5 separate regions of the Homo sapiens genome follow, and all the other regions are linked to region 1. Evidence: promoter capture Hi-C in 16 types of primary human blood cells and fetal thymus (Javierre and others, 2016). All regions are on one chromosome and are shown on one strand. Each heading gives the region's core, a stretch centred on a gene start or on the middle of the fragment in contact. The rest is flanking DNA. Distances are from core to core; before and after follow the strand shown.

What was found. The method cuts DNA at HindIII sites, captures the fragments that hold promoters and counts their contacts. A CHiCAGO score of 5 or more calls a contact.
Region 2: a fragment that was not itself captured here is called in contact with the fragment with the promoter of RBPMS2 in region 1 in 2 of 17 cell types (M0 macrophages and endothelial precursors); the score reaches 5.9 in M0 macrophages.
Region 3: a fragment that was not itself captured here is called in contact with the fragment with the promoter of RBPMS2 in region 1 in 1 of 17 cell types (endothelial precursors); the score reaches 5.8 in endothelial precursors.
Region 4: a fragment that was not itself captured here is called in contact with the fragment with the promoter of RBPMS2 in region 1 in 1 of 17 cell types (endothelial precursors); the score reaches 5.8 in endothelial precursors.
Region 5: a fragment that was not itself captured here is called in contact with the fragment with the promoter of RBPMS2 in region 1 in 4 of 17 cell types (M1 macrophages, M2 macrophages, naive CD4 T cells and 1 more); the score reaches 7.0 in M1 macrophages.

The regions. Positions count from the first base shown.
Region 1 is chr15:64,774,327-64,776,859 of GRCh38, forward strand. RBPMS2 (RNA binding protein, mRNA processing factor 2) reads right to left here and starts at 1,263. Exons shown (of 8, transcript NM_194272.3): 1 at 907-1,263. The coding sequence starts at 993. RefSeq lists enhancers at 1,124-1,970, 1,971-2,533 and a silencer at 1,439-1,688. The HindIII fragment of the contact is 6,915 bases long and covers 1-2,533 here.
Region 2 is chr15:65,008,466-65,010,998 of GRCh38, forward strand. The region is part of intron 6 of MTFMT (mitochondrial methionyl-tRNA formyltransferase); the gene reads right to left. Among named protein-coding and RNA genes, the nearest start is that of SPG21, 20 kb to the left of the region's middle. The HindIII fragment of the contact is 1,049 bases long and covers 743-1,791 here.
Region 3 is chr15:64,967,715-64,970,247 of GRCh38, forward strand. It overlaps SPG21 (SPG21 abhydrolase domain containing, maspardin), which reads right to left. Exons shown (of 9, transcript NM_016630.7): 6 at 2,400-2,508; 7 at 1,541-1,648. Among named protein-coding and RNA genes, the nearest start is that of SPG21, 21 kb to the right of the region's middle. The HindIII fragment of the contact is 525 bases long and covers 1,009-1,533 here.
Region 4 is chr15:64,945,646-64,948,178 of GRCh38, forward strand. ANKDD1A (ankyrin repeat and death domain containing 1A) reads left to right here. Exons shown (of 15, transcript NM_182703.6): 13 at 1,759-1,948. Among named protein-coding and RNA genes, the nearest start is that of ANKDD1A, 35 kb to the left of the region's middle. RefSeq lists enhancers at 1,321-1,821, 1,822-2,322. The HindIII fragment of the contact is 240 bases long and covers 1,141-1,380 here.
Region 5 is chr15:64,925,241-64,927,773 of GRCh38, forward strand. It overlaps ANKDD1A (ankyrin repeat and death domain containing 1A), which reads left to right. Exons shown (of 15, transcript NM_182703.6): 5 at 826-930; 6 at 1,661-1,759. Among named protein-coding and RNA genes, the nearest start is that of ANKDD1A, 15 kb to the left of the region's middle. The HindIII fragment of the contact is 3,928 bases long and covers 1-2,533 here.

The sequences.
Region 1 (2,533 bases), core at 13-2,512:
CCTTCTACTCCAGTTCTTGTCTCCGCCAGCCTAGCTCCTCGTCCCTATTCACTGATATCTTTGAGGCTTTTATCCAGCACCCCACCCCGCACACACATCCTCCCTACCATCCATTAACCACCCAGCTGCTGGTGGTTCCACGGAGCCGCCTTACACTCCCTCCCTTTCGCACATGGCCGGTGGACGAGATGATTTCGCCCCTCCTGGCAGGATCCCACCCAGGCCAGCTTTGGGGTCCTGGCTTGGTTGCCAGGACAAACCCAGAGAGAGGAGAAGGACGAACTGAGTGTCTTTAGTCATCTTCCAAACTAATTAAATTGTGGGCTCACCTCTGCCAAAGCCCAGGTTCTGGGGCTGTGAAGAAAGCCCGCCCACCCCCATGACAACAGCTCGCAGGAACCGAGGAGCCGGCCGGCCCAGGCCTCCAAGGTCACGGGGAGGGGGTCAGGGCGGAAAAGGCAGTGGAGTGAGGGTGCCGCCCTCGGGCCGTGCTAATCCCGCTCCGCTCCGTGCCGCCGAGGCGGGGTCCTGGCCACGCAGGAGGTGCGCCTCGGAGGAGGGCGGCGAGCGGCTACGGGGTGGGGAGCAAGGGGCGCGCGGGCGGCAGGCATGGAACGGACGCGGCGCATCTCGCCCACCGCGGGACGCCCGGACGGCGGCCGGCGCGCGCGGCCCGCCTCGAGCCCGAGAGGGCGGGGAGACAATGCCTGTCCGGCGGGGCAGTCCAGGCCGCACGCTCCCGCCCGCGGACACGGGCCGCTCCTACCCGGGCGAGAGGGCAGCGGCGGGAAGGCGCCGGGAGCGATGGCCACCCCGGCCCCGCGAGGCGCGGCAGGCCCCGCTCGCCCTCTCCCGCGCCCGCCTGGCGTGCGCTTCACCCGGCAAGTCCCGGGGCCACAGACCCACCTCCTCCTCCAGGGCGCCGCCGGAGCCCGCGCCGGAGCCGGTGCCGGTGCTGCCGCCGTGCTCGCCGTCCGGCTTCAGGTTGCTCATGGTGCGGGGGAGGGGGCGGCGGGAAGGAACGCGAGGGCGAGCGCGGCGCCGGCCCCGCGGGAAGTGGGAAGGGGCGCGGGGAGCGGTGCGCTCGCGGGTGCGGAGCGGGTGGCGGGGGACCCACGGGGCAGTGAGAGGGGCAGCCTCCGCGTCGGGCCAGGGTCACATCAAGTTTGGCGGGTGCGGAAGGTGGGGAGGGGGTGCGGCGGGGGAGGCAGTGGGAGCCGGAGGGGCCGCCGCCTCCGCCTTTTCACTGCGACCGGCGAGTGCGCCGCGGCGGCGGCGGCGGCGGCAGCGGCGGCGGGGGGCGGGCGCCGGGGGAGGGGGCGGGCGCCGGCGGCGGGGGGCGGGGCCGGAACCGGCCTCAGCTGGGGCCCGGCCAGCCCCCTCCCCCGCCCGCCGCGCGGTCTCCGGGGGAACGCGCAGCCAATCCCCACCGCCCACCGTGGGCTCGCCCCGGCCCCGGCCGCGGGGCGCCGGCCTCCGGCCGGGCCTTTCCCCTCTCTCTCGCCTGGGTCAGCGCTCTCCCTCTCTCCTCTTCCCCCGCGCCCTTCTCCACGGCGAGTTTTTAAACTTTGATGAACTCGCCCGGCGAACTTTCTTAAAGGGGCCGCGCGCTGCGCGCCCCAGCCCGCGGGAGGTGGAGCCCCGTGCCCCGCACCCAGCGCCCCGGTCCCTGGGCGGCCCTGCCCGGGCGGCCTCGCGCTTAGGGCACCCGCAGCGAGGTTTCCGGGCCGTCGACTCCCCTTGTATCTTGATCTAGGGTTTTGGGGTTCCCGACGCACTCATTCTGCCCCTAAATCCAGTCGCGCAGACCTCAGCTCCGGGGGACCGAGTTCTGGGGGTGATGGCCGGGGGGAGGGGGTTGGGAGACACCTGAGCTTTGGCCCGGGCTGGGCGCTGTTTTGCTGAGTGACCTTGAGGAAATCACTTCCCCTCTCTGGCCTCAGGCTCCCAGCCCAGAGGGTGGGACTTAGGATCTCAAACTCCCTTCCCACTCCCAGTCACTATCTGAATAGGACTTAGGTGGGGATTCGAGTGTTGGGACCCCAATGGTCATTAGCGAGGGCTGCCTCGAATGACCAAGAAGGTTCTGTTGCCCACCTTGCCCTCAACACGCCTGGCTTTCGGGTCTTCTCGCTCCTCCCCCGACCTCAGTGCCCCTCACACCTTTCCCTGCCTCCTATTCTGAGCCCGAAGGCTGGGGACGGATGTAATAGCCTAGAGGCTGGGGGAGGTGGGGGAGGTCGTCGTGACTCCCCCCGCACCCCCGCGCAGGTCAGTAGGGCGCGGCCTCTGGGTCGGTTTTCTCTTCTATTTGAAAACCCAGCCGATGGGGGCCCGCCCTGCTGCCACAGTAGAAACCCGCACCCACCTCGGGGAGCGCTGGAAGCGCTGCAGCCTGAATCCGGCAGAGCCGCGGGAGAACTGGGTCCCTCCTCAGTGCCCCTTCTCCTGGACGGGGCGGAGGTTGCGGTGACCCGAGATCTTGCCATTGCACTCCAGCCAGGGCAACAAGAGCGAAACTCCGTCTCAAAAA
Region 2 (2,533 bases), core at 17-2,516, 230 kb after region 1:
GTTCAATCCTCTATTTCATACATGAAGAGAGTGAGGCTCAGAGAAATGCAGCTATTTTCCCAAGGTTGGACCCAGCTAGTTAGTAGCAAAGCCAGGACTGGCTTCTGTTTTCTGATTCTCAGTGCAGTGCTCTTTTTATGACACCCCTTAAAGAGGGTATTTAACTTTCAGAAGAGTTAGGTTGTTGTAATAATTTGAACATTAAATCAAATAAGTAAATGAATTTGAAGAACAAGTTCATAACTGTATCTATGTCATAGCCTCTTCTATAACTTGCTAGCTCACTTTTCTTTTGCCCGCTTCAATAAAAGTTCTGAAACGATTTTCATATGTGCAATTTTTTTCTTTTAAATAACTCAAAATATTTTTGAAACATGCTTACTGACTAAAAAAGATTTCTATTTACTGAGAGTAATAAACATGCTAGGTACATACTCAGAATATAGTCTTGTTCTTCGGGAGGTAAAGCTCACCTTATCATCAGAGCATTGTAGAAAGGAAAGGGATGGTAAGAATATAATCATTTTGGTGTCTGCCATCATTACTGCCAAAATAGTATGTTTGCATGAATTTACATTCACCTAGTTCATTTCCTTTGATCTTGCCAGTTGTGTACATGGTCATTAATCCCACTTTAGAGGTAAAAAAAGCAGAAGCTCAAAGACAAGGGCCTTCCTCTCATTAGTAAAGGGCAACTCTAGGAACCAAACCCCACCTTCTGGCTCAGTCTTTTATAGCACAAAGCTTTTCTCCATGTACAGGGAAGATAAACCGCAGAGGGTAAGAATCATCATGTAGTAAGTTATAGGTGCCAAGAGATTTCAAGCTACTGGCCTAAATTGCATCTCAGGAAGTTGTCTACTTGATATCTCCATATGAACGTCTTCTAACTTAATATATGTCAAACTTAACATGGCCAAAACTATTGATTTCTCTTCCCAAATGTTCCTCCCCAGACATCCTCATCTCAATTAAATGGTTCCACTATTCACCCAGTTTCTCAAGCCAAAAATCTATGAATGATCCTAATTTATCTATCTCTAATTTCCCAGATTCCATCAGCAAATTCCGCTGACTCTATCTCCAAGCATAGTCTGGATGTCCACTTCTTTTTATCCACCATTATCATTGTTCCAAACTGCCATCATCTGTCATCTGGCTACAGTCGCAGCAGCTTCTTTTTATTTTTTTAATTTTTTTTTTTAAAGACCGGATCTTGCTCTGTCATCCAGGCTGGAAGTGCAGTGGTGGAATCACAGCTCACTGCAGCCTCAACCTCCCAGGGTCAAGTGATCCTCCTACCTCAGCCTCCCGAGTAGCTGGGACTACAGGTGCATCCCACAATACCTAGCTAATTTTTGTATATTTTGTAGAGACAGGGTTTCACCATGTTGCCCAGACTGGTCTGGAACTCCAGGGCTCAAGCGATTCACTCTTCTTGGCCTCCCAAAGTGCTGGTATTACAGGTGTGAGCCACCACACCCAACCAATTCCCTAACTGACCTCCACTCCACTCTCTAGCAGCAGCCAGGGCAACCTTTTAAGAATGTACATACCTAATCCCATTACTCCCCTGCCGTGGCCCTCTGATGTCAATCCTACTCAATCTTGCTTCTCCCCTCACCTTAGCTACTCTCCATCTTGCCAGCTATGCTCCAGCCACACCAGCCTCATTTCTGTCCCTCAAACATGTCCAACTCTTTTCCATCTTGGGTTGTTTTTTTGTTTTGTTTTGTTTTTTGACAGCTTTATTGAGATGTAATTCACATACCAGAAAATTCACCCTTTTGAAGCTTCCAAGTCAGTGGTTTTTAGTAGACTCAGGGTCATTCAACCAATGTCACTCGTTTTTTTCTTGCCTAATTTTTAGAACATTTTCATTACCTCTCTCTCCCAGAAAAAACGCCATCCATTATCAGAAAATTCCCATTATCCTCTCTCCTCCAGCCTATGGATTTGCCTATTTTGGACATTTCATATAAATGGAATAATAACATATGTAGTCTGTTGTGACAGGGTTTTTTCACTTAGCATATTTTTCAGGTTCATCCATGTCATAAGCATGTGATTATGGTTATGGCTGAGTATTAATAATATTCCACCGTATGGCTATATACCACATTTTTTTAACGCATCCCTCAGTTGGATATTTGGGTTGTTTTCACTTTTTGGCCATTCTGAATAATGCTGCTATGAAGATTCGGGTACACATTTTTGTGTGAGCACAATGTTTCCAATTCTCTTGAGTATAAACCTAGGAAAGGAAATGCTGGGTCATAAGATACTTCTGTGTTTCACTTTTTGAGGAACTGCCAAACTGTTTTCCACACAGGTTGCACCATTTTTAAGAGGTAAACATGGTACCATGAATGTATGAAGTTTCCAAATTTCTCCACATCCTTGCCAACACTAGTTTTTGTCTGTTTTTTGAATTATAGCCATCCTAATGGGTGTGAAGTGGTATCTCATTGTGGTTCTGATTTGCATATCCCTAAAGACAGATGAAGTTGCTGATCTTTTATATGCTTACTGG
Region 3 (2,533 bases), core at 21-2,520, 190 kb after region 1:
CCCGCCTTGGCCTCCCAAAGTTCTGGGATTACAGGGGTGAGCCACCGCGCCCGGCCTAATTTTCTTTATTAGTAGTAGAGACAGGGTCTCCTGTATTGCCCAGACTGGTCTCGAATTCCTGGGCTCAAGCAATCCTCTTGAGTCAGCCTCCCAAAGTGCTGGGATTGCAGGAATGAGCCACTGTGCCCTGCCCAAACATATACTTTTACACCAATGTTCATAGAAGCACTATTCACAATTGCCAAAAGCTGAACACAACCCAAGTGACCACTGACGGATGAATGGATAAACAAAATGTGGTATAAACCAACATTGGTTTTATTGGTAGATATTATTCAGCTTTAAAAAGAAATAGGCTGGGCGTGGTGGCTCATGCCTGTCATAGCACTTTGGGAGGCCCAGGCAGGCAGACAGCTTGAGTCCCAGAGTTTGAGTCCAGCATGGGCAACATGGTGAAACCCCATCTCTACAAAAAATTAGCCGAACGTAGTGGTGTGAGCCTGTGGTCCAAGCTACTAAGGAGGCTGAGGAGGGAGGATTGTTTGGGCCCGGGAGGCAGAGGTTGCAGTGAGCTGAGATTGCACCACTGCACTCCAGCCTGGGGAACAGAGTGAGACCCTGTTTCCAAAAAAAAAAAAAAAAAAAGAAAGAAATGACATTCTGACACATGTATAACATTTCAAGATAAGTCTTGTGAAACATTATGCTAAGTGAAATGGCCACACAAAAGGATAAATGTTGTATGATTCTACTTATATGAGGTTCTAGAATAGGTAAATTTTTATAGACAGAAAATAAAACCGTTGATTATCAGAGGCCGGGGGAAGAAAGGGAACAGGAGTTATTGTTTAATGGGTATGCAATTTCTTCTTGGAATGATGAAAATGTTGTGAAAATGGTGATGGTTGCCGAACTGTGAATATACTTAATGCCACTGAACTATGCACTTAAAAATGGTTAAAATGGCATATTTTAAATGTACATTTTACCACAATAAAAAAATAAGCAAGCTTTTGTGGTAATTAAACTATGGAATTCTTGATTCTCTACCCTTGTTACCCTTGTGAAGCACCTTCTCTTTGCTGCCCATATATGTGCAATATATGGTGCAATATCTATTGATGAGAACAGCAAAAATACATCAAATGGGTAGACTCCCTTGTTTAAATTTATTTTGATTCATTTTTATTTTTATTTTTTTTTAATAAATACAGACAGGGTCTCACTATGTTGCCCAGGCTGGTCCTGAACTCTTGGACTCAAGCAATCCTCCTGCCTCAGCCTCCCAAAGCGCTGGGATTACAGGCATAAGCCACTGTGCTCGGCCTATTTTGATTTCAATGGTGTTATTCCTGCCAGAAAGAAATCCAAGATAAGCAATAAACAGATTATTTTGGAATTGAGAAAGCTGGAGGGTAAAAACAAAAGCCAAGGCAGCATTTGAAGAGGTACATTGAAAGTTATCAAATAGTTTTATAGGAGATCTTGACATACACATTTTAAAAAGTAAAGCAGCTATTTTACTTAAAAGGAAGCTTACATCCATAATAGTTACAGGTATGTCCCGAATTTTATGAGGTTCCACATAAGAATTTTGACAATTCAAGGTAAGTCTTGAAGCCAGTTCACTCTGACCCAAACTTTCTAGCTGCAGGAAGAAACACAGGTAAAGTTTTTGAAATAATTTTGTTTTTCACATTTACATTAAATCCACAGACAACATTTGTGCTTATAAAGGTGGTATCATCTGTGGTGGGGCCAGAAAAGTCATCAGTGAGGAACCACAACTTAGGTGAGAGACCATGAACTGGGCTTCTCAGGAGGTTGTGGCATTTTTCTATTCTGGAAACCTGGGTACAAACCAATGAAACCCGGCCTTCTACAGCCCTCAGCCTACACTGCCTACTCCAGCCAGGTGCCCATGGGCAGCAAGCCAATTCCTACTGCTCAAAGGTGACAGATATATGTTTTTGTTTTTTTTTTTTTTTTAAGATAAACCTTTAAGGGATCTTAAAAGAGATTTGAGAAATCATCTAGCCCAGCAGTTCCTAAATGCAAGCCAACAGACCTGGTTCATCAGATTTACCTGGTGGGTAGAGGAAAAGTGTGAAGTAAAAATAGATTCCCAGATCCCATGCCCAGGGATTCCAGATGGATGATCTGCTGTGAGGCCTTACAATCTGTATTTTTGAAAGCTCCCCTAAGTGATTTTGATGAATAGCTGGTGGGAAGCACTGATGTAGGCAAGCCCTTACCAGCAATAATATCTGCTCAGATGTATTACTCTGCTTAGCAAATACCTCTTACACATACTTGTGAGACAGATCTATCTTCTGGAACCAAGTAGATGTGAAAATTCCCAATACAATGTGTCCCCAACCCAATGTCATGATCCTTACCCTGTCTACCATGAAATCAATGGCATCAGCCATCATAGGGTCCACCGGGCCAGATGAAAAATTTCCAAGAACTATTTTTTTGAGCATAAATGCAGGCATCAGCCAAAAGCTGTAAAACACAAAGACCTTATAAT
Region 4 (2,533 bases), core at 11-2,510, 170 kb after region 1:
TTTTTGAGACGGAGTCTCACTCTGTCACCCAGGCTGGAGTGCAGTGGTGCGATCTCAGCTTGCCGCAACCTCTGCCTACTGGGTTCAAGCGATTCTCCTGTCTTAGCCTCCCAAGTAGCTGGGACTACAGGTGTGTGCCACCATGCCCAGCTAATTTTTTGTATTTTTAGTAGAGATGGGGTTTCACTATGTTGGCCAGGATGGTCTCAATCTTCTGACCTTGTGATCTGCCCACCTCAGCCTCCCAAAGTGCTGGGATTACAGGTGTGAGCCACCATGCCTGGCCGAATTATGATTTTTATCAAGACATAACCCCATCATAAGTTGAGGGGCATCTGTGTTGAATCTGCTAAGTTACAAATTTAAAAACCTAGTTTTTCTTAAACTTTAAAATTCATTTTATAAATCTTATTATTCTATTTATACAACTAGTAAATTTTTCCTGTCAGTTTCAAGGAAGTCTTTTGAGTAATGTTGGGTCCCATGTTTAAACTTAGTTAAACTAACTTAAACATTGAAACTGAATAAATAAACTTAATATAACAGATTTTCTTTTTAAGCACTTCAAATGCTTCTTAAATTCTTAAATTATCCTAATAAGACCATTAACTTAAACCTATAAATAATCTCAAATATCTTAAACATTCCAATGTGGTTTACAAACTTAGTAAACTTCTTATCCCTTTCAAATAAAAATCACTGTTTCAGAATCAATTGGTAGATAAATTTCAGTAGGAATCATAAGATGTTCTCCCACTGATATGCTAGATTCCCTTAAACATGACAACCCCTTTACATACAACAGATTATTCCTAAATATAATCCCAAAATGTTAATACTGAGGGTTGGACTAGCCGATTCATCTCTGTGCTGAGTACTAAGCCACTTCAGGCTTTACAGGTCCTCACCACTAAGGCAGTGGCTGCATGTCAGAATCACAAATCTCCCCTGGACCCCTAGGCCAATTCAGGTAGAATCTCTGAGGTAGGGGCCAGACATCAGTGGTTCTTAAAGTTCCCAGATGGTCTCAATGTGCAGATGGGGCTGAAAACACTGCCCCAGGGGACCAGTTTTTAATACCCCAGGTGAGAACCAAGCTTCACCTCACAGTGATTGCCAGAGACTGTTGACCATGACATAAGCTTTGGAACTGCAGACACCAGGATGATTTTTTTCACCCTGAACTTAACAACCAGAACTCTGCATCCATTCCCTTTAGAGGGCCTTAGGCTTCTGTGGGCATCATTTATGCTATGACAGAATTCTTTAGTAACCTCTAATTTCATTGCCTGCTTTGCTAGAAAGGATTTTGTAATCCCACCCTTTACTACCCCTTGTGATTCAGCAAATCCGATTCTTGCCCTGCCTGGTTTTGGCCAAAGCTTCGGAGTACTTCTGCTGACACCCATGCTATAAGAACACAGGAAAGAGAGGCAGGTGACCGGAGGAATCTGGAAAGGCTCCCTGGAAGTAGCACATGGGTAGTCTTTTGACTATGACAATGAGGTTGAGGGGCAGGAAGGTGAGCAGAGGAATTCCGGGTGGAAGAACAGTGGGAGCAACTTGGGTTCCAGAGGTCAAGGCAAGGCATGGAGTGAGAAACCAGAAGAGAGGACATTAAGCCCCTGGCCCTTGCTGACTCCAGCTCCCAGGCACCCCAGCAGAGGTGGTAGGAGGGTCATAGGGGCCTCGGCTCGGCACTGCCCCTGTCTGGGATCATGAGGGAGAGCTTCTGCACTTTTGGGATCTGCCCCACAGGACCACCCCAGTGATCCCTCTGGGAAGAGCTTGTCCTTTAAGCAGGACCATCGGCAGGAAACACAGCAGCTCCGTTCTGTGCTGTGGCGGCTGGCCTCCAGGTATCTGCAGCCCCGTGAGTGGAAGAAGCTGGCATATTCCTGGGAGTTCACGGAGGCACATGTCGACGCCATCGAGCAACAGTGGACAGGTACCACCTTGCCTCTCCTCGCCCTAAGCAACCATTGGGCGGAGGGGTGGGACACCTGAAATGTGTTCAGTTTTCTGTGCTTCTGGTGAAAGGGCCTGTGCAACCCACAGCCTGGTCCCACACTGTCCAACACACCTGGTGCTCTGTCCCTCCTCCAGGCCTCTGCACAGGGTGCACACTCTGCCTCTCCCCATTGATTGTGAATTTCACATTCTTCACCAATCAGCCCAAACTGATACCCACTGTTTATACCTAAACTAAAACCATTCTTGGTAAAAAGAAGAGGGCCTGCTGTTGTCACTATTATTCAACATCTATATGGAAATTTTGGCCCTGGTACTAAGGTGTGAAAAGGAAATAGAAATAAGGAGTGTAAATATTGTAAAGGAAGAGAGAGACTTATTGATTTCAGATGGAATACTTAATATACATAGGACGTCCAGAGGAATCAACTAAAAAAATCTTAGAATTAATCAAATAATTCAAGGAAATGGCTAAATATAGAAAATATACTAACACCACAGAACTCCTATGAACCATGGCTAAATGGGCAAAAAATATAGAGAGAGAATCTTTTAAAAGAGA
Region 5 (2,533 bases), core at 34-2,533, 150 kb after region 1:
AAAAAAAAAAGAAGTACACATATTGAAAATTTATATTCACTGAGATTTGACCACTGTCAAGATGTAAAACACTGTTGTACTGATTTTTATGACCCACTGATGGGTTGCAAACAGGACTTCAAATAATCTGACCTTAATACAAGGCAGGAGTAGAAGCTCTGGGGCATAAACATAGTATTTGCAAGTCTCCTTCCTTTTGCTTCTAGGCCCCAGAGACCTTCTTCCTGTCCACCCCCAACCCAGGCCACTTCCCTCTACTCCCTGCAGACCACATCTGCTCTTAATCTGCCCTAGAAGGTGAGGAGGTCACTTCCTAGTGACATACACTGGTCACTTGGTCACCTGCTTCTTCATTAGCAGCTGTATCAAGGAAGGCAGATACCTAGAACCTTCTTAACTGTTCTGGAGGCTACTAGTGCTACACGACCTCACCGTACATGTTTGAATTAATTTTCAGTTGATAAAATACCTTTCCTGTAGGTCCAGTCCTCTCAACCACCCACTGAAGTGGTCGGGGATTATGATGCTAGTTTGTCCTGTGTGAAAGTGGAGGCTCAGAGAGGTGGAGGTAACTGGCCCGAGACTCCGGAGCTGAGGGGTGCTGGAGCTGGGATTTGAATTTTGGCATCCCGACTCCTGCCAGCCCCCCTAAGGCTAAGTGGGCAGCAGAGTGGGTTATCCCTCGGGTCCATTCATCATTTACAGTGTTGTATCCATGGGGAGGCTGTGTTCTGGGTCCCAAACACTCGCTGTTTGGGAGACTGGCAGTGTGTGAAAAGGGCCTCCCTTCACAGACTGCAGGAACCCTCCTGCACTTGTTTCCAGGATGGCCTGACCTTACTGCACTGCGCAGCCCAAAAAGGCCATGTGCCTGTGCTGGCGTTCATAATGGAGGACCTGGAGGATGTGGCCCTGGACCACGTAGACAAGGTGAGAGTGCCTCAGGGCTACTCATCATTCCCATTGGGCGGGGGGCTCCTGGGGCCACTCTTGCACACTGGGCTTACCACATTCCTTGGGTGCATCCTTTGATCTGTGGGCATATTGCACCTGGCCTGGGGAGCCGCTGGTTGGGAAGAGGTGTTGAGGCGCAAATGAGCAGAATACAAGCAGAACACAGTCAGTTGCCACAGAGAGGTCTTGATCAAGGACTAGGTGGGTTAGAAAAGCAAGCCATTGCTTCTGCTTCCTGGAGGAGGTGGCATTTGGTAAATAAACTGGATTTGTGGGTAAGATTGGAAATCAGGGGTTGGAGAGGGCACCAAATGGAAGAGCGAGGCTTGTGGGAGCTTTAGGGACAGGAAAGGGCTCTAGTGTGAGTTCTGAGGGACTGGAATCTTAGGAGGGAAGGTCTGATGGGTGGTTGGGGGTCCCTCTGGCGATCTCAACCCCCATCCTCAAGAATCTGTTTATTCATTAGGCAGCAAGGAGCCACCTCAGGACTTCAGCCAGGGAGGGACCCCAGCAAGTGTCTCTTGTTGGGAAGTTGGGTCTGGGCTTTCCAGGCAGGGTGTGGGGAGGCAAGGGGAGAGGACAGTGTCTGGGGCAGGAGAGGCCACTACAAAGCCAGAGTGGTTGGGGAACAGAGGCCAGGTGGGCAGAGGCAGGTATGCCCACTGACAGAGTGAGGAAGGCTCACACCGCTTCTCCTCCCGGCCAGCTGGGGAGGACGGCGTTTCACAGGGCAGCTGAGCACGGGCAGCTGGATGCTCTGGACTTCCTCGTGGGCTCTGGCTGTGACCACAATGTCAAAGACAAGGTACCGTGTCCGTGAGGCTCTGGGATCCTGACCAGGGTGCAAAACTTGCCACCTTCCAGGCTCTGGCTCCTCACCTGTGTCCACGTCTGACTCCGATTGCGCTGGAGGCCCGTGTGGCCCAAAGATGAGAGTGTATTTAGTGTTCATCCAGCAGGCCCTTCACCAGCGTGTGCTATGGGCCAGCCCTGTGCTACAGGTTGGTGGCATAAAGATGCCCAAGACACCGTTTCTTACTCGAGGAACTCAGTGCCACAGGCATAGTAAGGATTTCTGATCCGACGTGGCTGGCCAGGGTGGCAGATCTGGGTGGTTGGTAGTGCTGCCTGGAGTGGGTTGAGCAGGGCTGTGATCTACTGGGGTTGTCTGTTGTTGACAGATGTGGGGAAGTGTTAGGGGGTGGTAGCCACACATCTGCTCTGCTATGGTTATGGCAGGAATAGGTTGGGAGCATGGAGAAGGTAGCATATCATTCAGGGCTTGTGAGCAGGATTTCACCAATCTGAGAAGGGGTAAGGGACGGGGACCAGAGGGTCTACCCTGCAAATGACTCTTATCATTGGACCCTTGTGAATCATTAGGCAAAATATGTTACAGCAAATTCCCTTTTTTTTTTTTTTTTTTTTGAGACGGAGTCTCGCTCTGTCGTCCAGGCTGGAGTGCAGTGGCGCTGTCTTGGCTCACTGCAAGCTCCGCCTCCCGGGTTCACACCATTCTCCTGCCTCAGCCTCCCGAATAGCTGGGACTGTAGGCGCCCGCCACCACACCCAGCTAATT